Linked DNA regions of Homo sapiens: all the other regions are linked to region 3. The links are contacts of gene promoters, found by promoter capture Hi-C in blood cells and fetal thymus (Javierre and others, 2016). All regions are on one chromosome and are shown on one strand. Each heading gives the region's core, a stretch centred on a gene start or on the middle of the fragment in contact. The rest is flanking DNA. Distances are from core to core; before and after follow the strand shown. Region 1 holds the start of TP73-AS2 (TP73 antisense RNA 2). Region 2 holds the start of LRRC47 (leucine rich repeat containing 47). Region 3 holds the start of ARHGEF16 (Rho guanine nucleotide exchange factor 16).

Region 1 (3,944 bases), core at 1,419-3,918, 260 kb before region 3:
TGTGTGTGCGTCTGTGTGTTTAGGGGTGCATCTCTCTCCTCTCTGGGGTTACGGGCCTCTTTGAGCCCACCCTCTGCCAAGGCCCTGGACCCTTCCTCTCCCTAGAAAAGCTCCTGGGGCTGAGCCACAGAACCCTTTCCATTAAATTCGTGGGTTCACAGATGGACCCCCTAAAACACATGCCTGAGCCAGGGTCAACAGCCTGTGGATTAGGGTCCTCCTGGGTCCCTTTCTCCTTCTGAGAGAGGAAGGGTATCCTCAGGTGGCAGCCACAGGGCCCCCTTGGTGACAGCCCCCTTCGTGGGAGGCTGTGGCCTTCACTGGTGCACAGTCACTGTCGCCCTCAGAGAGCTGCTGGGAGCACAGGCTGGGCTCTGACAGATGTCAGGGAGGCCTGGCAGGATGTCACAGGGCTGGTCCCTCCCTGCCCCAGGGAAGCCACTAGCCTGGGGAGGGGGAAAGGACACATGTGGCAATCGCCCCTGTTTCAGAACACCTTGGTGTTAAGCTGGGGCTCCCATGGTCGAGGCAGTGACGGCTCACTCACCAGGACATCCACAGCCCATGGGCCAGGCAGATGAGAGGCCCAAGCGAGCTTCAGAATGCCTGTGAGGCCACAGCCAGTGCCAGGCCCAGCGCTGCCCAAGAAAAGAGGCTGCTGTGAAAGAGCTCCTGGCTGGGGGGGCTGCAGGAGACAGATGTGTCTGCTGGCACCCCCATGCTGGCCAGCCGGGGCTCCCAGGCCAGGAGCTCTATGGAGGATGAACCAGAGGCAGAAACATCCTCTGCAGATGCCAAGCGATCCTCAGCCCTGACGGAGGCCTGCTAGAGCCCCAGAGGCTGTGGACAAGAAACTGCTCACTGGGGAGGGCAGGCCAGGGGCAAGTGGGAACCCTGAGGAGCTGGGCAGTCTGCCCCACCACGACCTTGAGCCATGTCCTAAACAGGTGAGCAGGAGCCACACGGGGGACTCTCAACGGCCTGGAAGCGCGGCTCCCTGGGAGACACTGAGTGCACCCAGACCACAGGAGCTGGAGCCTGCTCGATCCTCGTCCCATGCACGGCTGCCTCTAGGGATCTCCATCCTGGGCTATGATCGGGGTAGGGGAGGGAAGCAGGTATGTGCTGAGCCCAGGATAGACTTGGTGGCTTTGTCTCCAGTGCATAGTGAAGGCCCAGGGGTCCAGTAGGAGACGAGGGCCACAGGCAGAGGAGATAAGAGGGGCCTAGTGTTGGGGGAGGCTGCGAGGCAGCGTTTGCCCAAGGTGTCTGCCTCTGTTGGTGTGGAGACCTGGGGAGACAGTGAGTGCTGTCCACCTGCCAGGGAATGGGGCACCTGGGTCCACCCTCATGGCCACATCCACTGCCCACTGGTGCCTGCCCTGCGCGGGGCCCTCACCTGACCTTGGCCCTGGGAGGTCAGGCACTGTCACTCCGTTTAGTGACCCAAACCTGCCTGCTAAGCTGGGGTGGACCAGCACCCAGACCATAGCTGTCTGACCCCCAAGCTCCATCTCCCAGCCCTTTGTCACTGCTGGGCTTGACTTGGGTCCTGGGGCCTGGGGTCGGGGTCTAGGCAGAGACCCGCCTTAAGCACCCCTGGGTTCCAGGAAGACGGCACTGCAGAGGCGTCACCCCTGGGTTCCAGGAAGACTGGGCACTGCAGAGGCGTCACCCCGGGTTCCAGAAAGACGGTACTACAGAGGTGTCAGGTGGGACATGGGCTTCTTACCCCGTGGCTGGACTTAAGCCCCTTAGGGGTAAGGGGAACAACAGCCAGGGGCCTCACCTGCCCTGGTCCTGCTGGGGATGGGTCTCCATGGACAATAGAGACTGAGACTCACACAGACTGCCTTGTGTCTGGCTGGGATTGGGTGGCCCAGCCTGGACAGCTCCAGCCTCCACTTTGCTGCCGAGATGCTGTGTGAGGAGCTCAGGGCCCAGTCCCCACCCGGTCGCCGCTGTCCTGATTCACTGAGACCGCGTGCGGGTGCCCTGTGGCTGCTACTATCACTGTCACTCTGCCCAAGCCCGGGAAGGAATGAGCTGCCCAGGCAGGGCGAGGAACTCCATCTGCTCTTATTCCAGGACCCAGGTACCCCATCTGGGGCCTTGGGGACAGAGGGGGTGGCAGGGCAGTGCCCTGGGTCCGCAGAGACAAAAGCTGGGGCTTGCAGAGGGCCCCGGAATGCCCACCAGCAGCTGCCCCTCCGCTCTGAAGACACAGAGTGTTCAAAGCACCACACTCAGCCTCTGCCCTGGGCCGGGACCAAGCGCAGGGTCCTCTGCCCGCAACTTGCTTTTTGACAGCGCCAGCTGGAGGGCCCGTTGCCAGTAGCCTGGCCTCTCCTCCGGCCTCTGGCAAGGACCTAGCTAGCGGGACTGTGGGCCAGGCCCTGGAGCTGTCCCACGAGGGGCCCAGCAGGCTGGCAACAGGCCTGCTCTGCTCACTGCAGAGAGGGCCCCTTAACTCCTGGGGAGGAAGCCCCCACCATCCTTGCCCCCACCATCCTCACCCCCACCCTGACTGGTGGCTTTGAGGAGAAGCCAGGATTAACCCAGCCTTTTGAGGCCCGGCTTTGTCAGCTGTGGGGATTGGAAGGGTGCCCCAGGGTCAGTGGGTGCCCTCTGCTCACAGGACAGTCCCGGAGTCTCTGGCCACAGCTTCCTGGGACAGCCTTGGGGGCTGGAATTGGCAGCAGCTGGAGGTGGCCGGAGACAGCGGAGGGAGGGGAGTAAGCTGTGGACATGGTGGGGTGGTCCCTCTTCAGCTTTTAAGGTAATAGTTGGCTAGAATCTAGGTTTTTGCTAAACTTTGTAAATCTTCATTGAAATGCCTGGGGGAAGGAGAATTTTGGCCTCCGAATCTCTGACCCCTGCAGAGAGTGGTGTCTCCCCAACGCCAGGTGCAAGGAGCTGGGTGCCTCGCTCCAGTGGCATGGCTGGGGGAGGGGTGGGTTTGCAACCCTTGGGGTGGCTCTGGGCTTTAGGTAATCCCCCTGTGCGGTTTCCCCATGGGCTCTGACTTCTGCCTCACTGAAGCCTGGAGTGCTGTTACCTTCTCCAAAAGGGTCTTTCTGCCCTAAAATGCCCTGTTCCGCTCACGGCCTCTGCAGCCCCATCGTAACCCCTGGCTGTGGACACCAGCCTCGGCCGCCACGTAATCTCTGAGCCTCACGCTGTCCGCCTGGAGTGCAGAGAAGATGCTTTTCTTTCCAGCCGGGACACCCTGGAATTGTCTGTCCCCCTCTTCCTGAGGCTCCTCGGAAAAGGGACAGAAGGTCTGGAGGTCGCTCAGGGCCTTCTCTACCCAGAGGCAGGGGCTGGGCCTCCAGGGTCCGGGTCTCCAGGGTCCGTGGCTTCAACTTTTGGAATCTCAGAAAATCCCAGAAGTGACCACTGGCCTGGGGTGGCAGAAACCCACCAGACCGGGAAGCAAAACTAACTCACTGCCCAGCTGAGCCCCCCACCTTGCCCCGAGTCCCACACGGCCCAAGGTCCAGGTCACCTACGACCGCATCTTGGCGTCAGCACTGGGTCCAGGAGAAGCCTGGGACGGCCCTCCCCTGTGGGCCTCTCTTTCCCCCTGTCAACGGGAGTTAGTGGCAGTGAGGCCAGGCCTGGGAGGGGTGAAGGCAGAGGGGGCAGGGAGGCACCAGGAGAGGCCGGTCCCCAAGCCCAGCTGCCTGGCTTCTCGCCCATGAGGCTCGCCAGCCTCGGAGCACTCCAGTGATAAAGCGTTCTTGAGGGATTTTCCTTTGTCAACAAAACCAAGCAGTGAAAGCAGACAGGGACAGCTCTCCACCCCCAGTCCCAGTTTGATTCACTGGCAGACAGCAGTGGAAGGCTCATGGGGGCCAAGGTACAGCCTGGGCTCCCCCCACACCCCATTCGGTCCAAGGCTTTCTCCCCTAGGGACAGGCAGGTCCCTCTGAGGTGTCAGC
Region 2 (4,084 bases), core at 348-2,847, 340 kb before region 3:
GTGGATTGCTTGAGTTCATGGGTTTGAGACCAGCCTAGGCAACATGGCAAAACCCCAGCTCTACAAAAAATACAAAAATTAGCCAGGCGTGGTGGCACATGCCTGTGGTACCAGCTACTCAGGGGCTGAGGTGGGAGGATCACTGGAGCCAGGGAAGTTGAGGCTGCAATGAGCCGAGCTGGAACCACTGCACTCCAGCCTGGGTAACAGAGCAAGACTCTGTCTCAATAAATAAATAAATAAATAAATAAGAATTTGGGGGCTGGGTGCGGTGGCTTGTGCCTGTGAGCCCAGCACTTTGGGGGGCTGAGGCGAGCAGATCACCTGAGGTCAGGTGTTCGAGACCAGCCTGGCCAACATGGCGAAAACCGGTTAATATAAAAATTATATTAACACGGTTAATATAAAAATTAACCGGCCACGGTGGCATGCACCTGTAGTTCCAGCGGGAGGCTGAGGCAGGAGAATTGCTTGAACCCAGGAGGCGGAGGTTGCAGTGAACCAAGATAGCATCACTGCACTCCAGCCTGGGTGACAGAGCGAGACTCCGTCTCAAGAAAAAAAAAAGAATTTTGGTTTTGGTTTACACCACTCAAAAGTGCAGGAATTCCAAAACAAGCCGGTCGGGGCACAGTAGAGCACAGACTCTGGCTCCTCCATCCGCCCGCACCCCACCCTGTGAAAGGAAAATAAATCTCAAAACCCCACAATCACTAAGTCAAAGGAAAAAGTCAAGCTGGGAACTGCTTCGGGCAAATCGGCCTCCCGTCTTATTCCTAAATAAGATAGTTACAAATACATATTTTTAAAGCTACACACCTCCCTCACAATTTGCCCACAAAGAAATTCTCTGTGGGCCTCAAGATCTTTACCCTAAAACAGTTCTGTTGAATTTCACCCTGGCAATGCAAATTGATAGCTTCCCTTCACAGGTGCGAGACAAAGGACTGAACTCAAAGCCATCCCTCTGCTCACCTAGACAAATGCATATCTGATCGCTTCCTTTGCTCTACTGTTTACGTAGAAATGAAGATTCAGTAAGCCAGACTAAAGCATAAGCGACTATTCCTCTACCCGCGTCTCACATGCATAATAAATTGTGCAGTCAGCGAAAGGCTGAACAAAGACTCAAAAGAATGCACCCTCCGGTCTCTTCTCTACCTGTGACCTGAAAGCCCTCTCCTGGAATTGTCCAGCCTTTCTGGGCTGAACCAAGGTACACTCGCACGTGTTGATTGATGTCTCACGTCTCCCCAAAATGTACAAAACCAAGCTGCATCCCAACTTCCCTGGGCACCATCGTCACGATCTCCTAGGGTTGTGACACTGGCGTGTCCTTAACCTTGGCAAAATAAACTTTTTACATTTCATTGAGTCCTGTCTCAGATATTTTTGGGTTCATAACCCCCACCCTCACCCCTACCCGCGGAGAGAGCGAGCCGCTCTCCAGCCCCTCCCCGGCTCTACGCAGGAGAGGCCACTCTCCTCTATGGCACGCGCGGCGGCACTCTAGCAGCCAGGTGGCTTCTCTATGGGCTTTTCCGGCACAGGTCGGAAGTGGCGCGCGCTGCCCCGGAAGCACCCTGGTGGGTGGGTGCCTGCCAGCAGCTGAGGCGCCATGGCGGCGGCAGCGGTGTCAGAGTCTTGGCCGGAGCTGGAGCTGGCTGAGCGCGAGCGGCGGCGGGAGCTGCTGCTGACGGGGCCCGGGCTGGAGGAGCGAGTGCGGGCGGCGGGTGGGCAGCTGCCGCCGCGGCTTTTCACCCTGCCGCTGCTGCACTACTTGGAAGTGAGCGGCTGCGGGAGCTTGCGCGCGCCGGGGCCTGGCCTGGCGCAGGGCCTGCCGCAGCTGCACAGCCTCGTGCTGCGGCGCAACGCGCTGGGGCCCGGCCTGAGCCCCGAGCTCGGGCCGCTGCCTGCCCTTCGGGTGCTCGACCTGTCGGGCAACGCGCTGGAGGCGCTGCCGCCGGGCCAAGGCCTGGGCCCCGCCGAGCCGCCGGGCCTTCCGCAGCTGCAGAGCCTCAACCTCAGCGGCAACCGGCTGCGCGAGCTGCCAGCCGACCTGGCGCGCTGCGCCCCGCGCCTGCAGAGCCTCAACCTCACCGGCAATTGCCTAGACTCCTTTCCCGCCGAGCTCTTTCGCCCCGGCGCGCTGCCCCTGCTCAGTGAACTGGCGGCTGCTGACAACTGCCTCCGAGAACTCAGCCCCGACATCGCCCACCTGGCCTCGCTCAAGGTCAGCGGGGGCTGCCCGGGCGGGGCGGGATGGGGCCTTGGAGTAGCCCTGGAGAAGGAACCCCTCTCGGGGCCGAGCAGTTCCTAGTGACGCCCCCTGGGGCACTGGGCCCAGGGAATTCCTACAAGGCTGAAAGGAGCCAGCTGCGGGGGGCATCACCCCTGGGAAGCAGATGCCGCCTTCCAACTCCCCCTTCTCCTGGCCACACCAACATACTAGGTGGCCTCTGAACTCCCCCGCATTCTGTTAACTGGACTTTTACACGTGGTACGCTATTTTGTAATTGTTAGCAAACCTGGCTTCTCCTGTAGATCGAGCGTAGAGACCTGTCTTTTTTGTATCTAGTACTTGTGAAGTGACTTGAGAGTGAGTCTGGTGGTGAAGGGGGCACCCTGGATTTTGCATAATGCCACATGCTGTGATCTTGAAGATTATATTTCACTTCATCCTAATAGCAGCTTTCCAAGGTAGGGGTGGTTATTCCTGTTTTACAGAAAGCCAAAGGGCCTGCCCAAAGTAAGCAGCAGGTAACTTGGGTTTTTCTCCAGACTATATTGTCCAGCGTCTGTTTACTAATTAATCTTGGATCCCCAGGCCCCGCGATAATGCTTGGCCTATAACAGGTGCCCATTGAATCTGTTGCCTAAAAGAAAGTAGGGAAGCCACATGGCAGAACCACGACCTAAACCCAGCCAGATGTTCTCTCCATCTTCTCTTTTGGTTTCATCCTTAAGGCAGTCCTGCATTTCTTCCCCCATTTTTCGTCTTTGAATTTATGCAGACATTTCTTTTTTTTTTTTTTTTTTTTGAGATGTAGTCTGGTCCTGTCACCCAGGCTGGAGTGCAGTGGCGCGATCTCGGCTCACTTCAACCTCCGCCTCCCGGGTTCAAGCGGTTCTTCTGCCTCAGCCTCCTGAGTAGCTGGGCTTACAGGCGCACACCACCACGCCCGGCTAACTTTTGTGTTTTTAGTAGAGACGGGTTTCACTGTGTTGGTCAGGCTGGTCTCGAACTCCTGACCTCATGTGATCCGCCTGTCTCGGCCTTCCAAAGTGCTAGGATTACAGGTGTGAGCCACCGCGCCTGGCCTATGTGGACATTTCTTAATAAAATACGTATACACTTTAGCAGCTTATCTATTTATTTGCTGTAGCAATTCCTCAAGACATTGCAACTCATTTTACAAGTAACATATCTATATAAGGATATATAGACAAACCCTGGCCGGGCGCGGTGGCTCACACCTGTAATCCCAGCACTTTGGGAAGCTGAGGCGGGCAGATCGCTTGAGGTCACACCACCAGCCTGGCCAACATGGTGAAACCCCATCTCTACAAAAATACAAAAATTAGCTGGGCCTGGTGGCGCGTGCCTGTAGTCCCAGCTACTCGGGAGGCTGAGGTGGGAGGATCACTTGAGCCCAGGAAGTGGAGGTTGCAGTGAGCTGTGATACCAGCCTGAACAGAGCGAGACCCTGTGGCAAAAAAAACAAACCCACTGTAGAGTGACACATGGTTACTGATGTAACTGCCCAATGGGTTCATTTTATCCACTACCCGGATAGAGCTGATTTATCAGGGCAGGAGGGTTGCAATAGAGAAAGTTTTACACATGTAGAGCCAGCTAAAGTGGAGACTGGAGTTTTACTGTTATTATTATTGTTGTTTGAGATGGAGTCTCGCTCTGTCTCCCAGGCTGGTGTGCAGTGGTGCAACCTTGGCTCACTGCAAGCTCCGCCTCCCGGGTTCACGCCATTCTCCTGCCTCAGCCTCCCGAGTAGCTGGGACTACAAGCGCCCGCCACAACACCCAGCTAATTTTTCGTATTTTTAGTAGAGATGGAGTTTCACTG
Region 3 (4,252 bases), core at 1,582-4,081:
CACCAAGGTCAAGGGTGGGGGAGGGGCGTATGGTTTGGGTTTGTCTTGGGTGTGGGGTTCTTCCTTCTCGGGGCTTTTCTGAAATTTTGGGGCCAAAGCAGGTTTGGGTGTCAGATTCCCCAAAGAGCTCCCGGGAGGGTCGTTCTGTTCCGCCCCCCACCCCATGCTCTTTCAAACTCCCTGGGGCTTCCAGAGTCCTCGGCGCTCAAGTCTGAACCCAGGTTCCGGTTGCATGGAAGTTTTCCTTTAGGAAGAGGAAGCGGCCACTCGGGGTCAAGAGAGGGCAGCGAGCGAGCGGGCGGGGGCAAGCAGGGGGCTGCCTGGTGTGTGTGGGGGGGCGGGTCCAAAGTCGCATCCGGCTCAGCCCGCGAGCCCCGCCTCTCCCGCCCCGGCGGAGCCCCAGGAGGGTCGCGAAGTTGTTGCGGCTGCCGGGGCGGGGCTTGCGGGAAAAGCGAGGGGGAGGAGAAGCGCCCCGGGTTCCCGGCGCCTCCCCCGGGCTAATCCCCCCACCCGGCTCCCCCGAGCCCCGACTCACCTGTCCCCCGGCTCACCTGTCCCCCAGGCTCACCTGCGCCGCGGGGCGGAGGGACGGAGGGGCGGCGCGCTGGCGGTGCAGCTTCCAGCGCCGGGTCCTGTCCTGTCCTGCAGCCGCTTCGCTCCTGCGGCAGCGCGGTCCGGCCCGGGGCGCCTCCTCCGCTTCCTGCGCGGTCTGGCTGGAGGGCGGCGGCTGCGGCCCCGCAGGTGGGCGCTGGGCGGGCGGGGCTGCTCCGGGTCCGAGGGCCCGGGCGGGGAGGGCCGGGGAGGGGGCGGGGCGCGTCCCGGGCACCTGTGGCGGCGCCGCCTGCGTCACAGGTCACAGCCCCACCTGGGCCGGCTGGAGCCCACGTGATCGCCCGGACTGGATCGCGCCTCTCGATTCCCGCCGAGCCGCCGCCGCCCGGTGCCTGCGCCTTCCCTCCCCGCGCCCACGCCCCCTCGAGGCCGGCCCGGGAGTCGCCTGCCAGGCGTGGGGCCAGAGCGGCTCGGCTCCCTCCTGCGTCACTGTCCTTCCAGGCCCCGCTCCACTGCCTCCTCCAGGAAGCCTTCGGGGAAGGAGACCAGCCCTGCGGGGACCGATGTTTGCTGTAGAAAGGCCCGGCCCTCTGGATTCTTGGAAGCCAGGCGGCCAAAGACAGCCAAGAGGGCGCAAAGCACTCTGGCCACCTTTTTGGTGTGGTTGAGTCGCGGTCATCCCCATTTCACAGAGAAGGACCGAGTCCTGGAAAGGAAGGCGCTCGCCCTCGTGCACAAGGCTGAGCCTGGACTCCGAGCCTGGCCTTTCCTTGCTCCGCCTGCTGGGAACCCGTGTGAAAGTGAGGGAGGGCCCCGGGCAGAGGCTGCAGCAGCCCCCCAGCTGGGGGTTCAGGAATCAGGCCACCTGGTGCTGTGGGAGGGGCTGGGGGCTGAGCCAAGCCTCCCAAGCTTGGGCCTGGCCATTCAGGAATGTGACCTGAGGTCCCAGGGCTCAGACCCACTTCTGACCTGCCTCCATCATCCCCTTTTCAGGAAAGGCCTGTTGCCAAAGGCCTCCATGTGAACATCCACACTGGGCTTTGGGTCAGCTTCTACCAGCGTCCCCTCACTGACCCCAGGCCTTGGGGTCGTGGGCCGGGCACCGGTGTGCCAGCCAGAGGCACTGACCACCCTCCTCCCAGGACCTGCCTCCCTGGCCTGGGCGGCCGTGAGATCCCGTTGCGGGTTGAGGAGACACCACAGGCTCTGGGGCTGTCACTTGGCATTTTCTCAGGTGTCATAGGTAGAGGGGCGGCCTGCCCTGCCCCTCCTGCTCTGGTCGCCCCACCCACTAGTCCCCCAATGTCTGCCCTGTGGCTGGGGCTGCCTGGGTGTCAGGTGCCATCTGGGCAGGGCACAGGCTGGCCTCAGGGATGGGTCCCGTGGGCCATCCATCCCCTGGGAGGGAGGGTGGATGAGGGAGGAGCTAAGAGTTGACCCCTGTGGGCTGCAGCCTCCACCTGGAGCCGCCTGTGGGGAGGTTCCACTTCCAGGCAGCTCTTGGGAAAGGCAGGTGGCTGCTGCCCTCCTGAGTCCATGATGGGTACTGCACCGACGAGGCCCGGCCTGCCGGAGGGAGCTGGGGTGTCCCGGAGCCTTGACCCGTGAGGGGACTGAGGTGCGGTGGGGTCACTGAGGCCCAGTGAGGGGACAGAAGCCTTGCCCCAGGCCAGTCAGCAGGACCCAGGTTCCTGATTCCCACTGAGTGCTTTCCTGTAAAACCCTCTTTCAGTAGCTGCCTCCAAGTTACCCCCAACCCCACACCTTCTGTCCAGCCCCTGCTGGGCCCGTTCAGCCACCCTGGGTCTGGCTTCGTCTCCCCATGTCCTGCTGGCTTCCAGAGGCCACTCAGCGTGTGCTTGGGATGGTCCCTTTGCTGGGGATGTCACCTGAGCTGGCGTCAGGACCTCTCTGTGCCTCTGTCACCTCTGCTGTAAATGAGGGCCTGATGCTGGCGCAGGAGATCGCCCTGGCATGAGGCCTAAGGGAGAGGTTGGAAGGAACCAGCTTGGAGACCTAAGGGGCTCGCAAGGAGAGAGAGACTCCGGGGAGGCCTGCCAGTGGGAGGCCTGCCAGTGGGGTCGGCCCGTGGCACTTCCTGCACCTCTGTGGTGGGATCCCGAGCCTGTGGCTCAGCCTGCCCTGGGGGCCTTCCCCTCCCACATTACTGGCAGGGGAGAAGATGTGGATCCCCCAAGCTTAACAGCCACTGTGCATTGCTGTAGGGTGGGCAGCGCTCTGGCCGAGCACCAGTGTGCCAGCCAGAAAGCACACCTCTATCTGCGGGAGCAGAGCTCCTTTCCTGCGGCTTGAGGTGGCCTGAGCTCCTGCGGGCCTTGCTTTGAGTTTTCCAAGCTTTTACTCAGCCACTGGGGCCACAGCACAGACAGCCCGTAGCCTTAGGTGGTACCTGAGGCCAGCAGCCCCTCGGGAGGCCTTTTGGCTCGACCTTCCAGGGTAGGTGTCCAGGGCTGAGGGTGAGCTGAGGCTGCTGGGCAGGTTTGTCCTCCCTGCCAGGCCGAGTGGGCGGTGCTCCCACCTGCTCCCCTCCCTCCCTGGGGCCCTAAGGAGCACACGGGGTGGAGGGAAGGCCATGACAGCCCTCAGTTCTCAGGCCCTCAACGCTGGGCTGCCCTGTTACCCACTGCAGTTCCATGGGTGTCCTCTCCAGCCCGTAGGCAGCTGGGAAAGGGCCCCAAGGGCGCGGCTGTGAGTGGGATGGAGGACAGAGACGCCTCTGCTGGGTGGGTGGAGGCCCATGGCTGGGGGGGCCGGGCTGGTGGGAAGAAGGTTGGGTTTGAGGAGCAAATGCCCCTCCTCCTTGTACCCTAAAATAGCAGGTCATTACTTCCCATTAAGCACCTACTATGTGCCAGCCTCATGCTGGGGGCCTTGCACGCGTCATCTTAGTGAATTCTTACAGAAAGCCCCTCAGATGCCCCCCGCTTAACTGAGAGGAGAAATGTTTTGCCCCTTGTTACCTGGCTGGTAAGTGGCCCAGCCACAGTTAGAGCCCAGGTCTGTCTGACGCCAAAGCCCAGGATCCCTAGTCATCATTAGGGACCATTTCTGGTTTACAAAGACATGCATATAGTATTTATATTTTTATATAAAAATATATAAAAGCAACCCCATGTATCTTCCCCAAATTGAGAATTTAAAACATGTCAGGTGTTTTGGCCATGACGAAGTAGTCGGTACCAGACTTGTCTGTCACCACAAACAACTCAAACATGGAACAAAAAATACGAGAAACAACTCTTTCTAACACTGGACAACAGGTGCAGAGACAGAAATTCCTGGAGAAAGAGGTAAATAAGCCTTTGGCCAAGAGAGGCTGGTGGCCTCACTGGGCTACAGGGGACAGAGTTGGGGAGCCAAGGAGGCCAAGGACTATGGAGAGAGTCCTGGAGAGAAGGCAGCAGTGCAGGGGAGCCCCGAAAGAGTCCTGGAGAGAAGGCAGCGACGTAGTGGAGCCCCCAAAATCCCCACAGGGGTCCACTTGAGCCTTTGGCTGAATACTGAACTGTGCATAAGCAGAGTAAGATCCCATGAAGCCAGGGACCAACAGCGACCAGGGAGCTCTGTGAGCAGAGTGACACCAGAGTTCATACCAGGCCAGGGGACGCTGGAACGTCAGCCACCAGGAAGGAAGCACCGTCGCTGACTATCCCTCGTTGACCTCAGCCGCTTGGGAGTC

What was found. Contacts are between HindIII fragments. The CHiCAGO score rates a contact against its expected background, and 5 or more counts as called.
Region 1: a contact is called between the fragment with the promoter of TP73-AS2 here and a fragment that was not itself captured in region 3, in 9 of 17 cell types (non-activated CD4 T cells, total CD4 T cells, naive CD4 T cells and 6 more). The highest score is 11.9, in non-activated CD4 T cells.
Region 2: a contact is called between the fragment with the promoter of LRRC47 here and a fragment that was not itself captured in region 3, in 1 of 17 cell types (total CD8 T cells). The highest score is 6.8, in total CD8 T cells.

Annotation. Positions count from the first base shown.
Region 1 is chr1:3,713,022-3,716,965 of GRCh38, reverse strand. It overlaps TP73-AS2 (TP73 antisense RNA 2), which reads left to right and starts at 2,668. Exons shown (of 2, transcript NR_185884.1): 1 at 2,668-2,779. All of the region lies in intron 4 of TP73 (tumor protein p73), which reads right to left. RefSeq lists a silencer at 2,133-2,372. The HindIII fragment of the contact is 47,283 bases long and covers 1-3,944 here.
Region 2 is chr1:3,794,011-3,798,094 of GRCh38, reverse strand. It overlaps LRRC47 (leucine rich repeat containing 47), which reads left to right and starts at 1,597. Exons shown (of 7, transcript NM_020710.3): 1 at 1,597-2,233. The coding sequence starts at 1,619. RefSeq lists enhancers at 1,416-1,710, 4,051-4,084 and a silencer at 1,826-2,035. The HindIII fragment of the contact is 14,897 bases long and covers 1-4,084 here.
Region 3 is chr1:3,451,128-3,455,379 of GRCh38, reverse strand. ARHGEF16 (Rho guanine nucleotide exchange factor 16) reads right to left here and starts at 715. Exons shown (of 15, transcript NM_014448.4): 1 at 569-715. RefSeq lists an enhancer at 1,881-2,633. The HindIII fragment of the contact is 157 bases long and covers 2,753-2,909 here.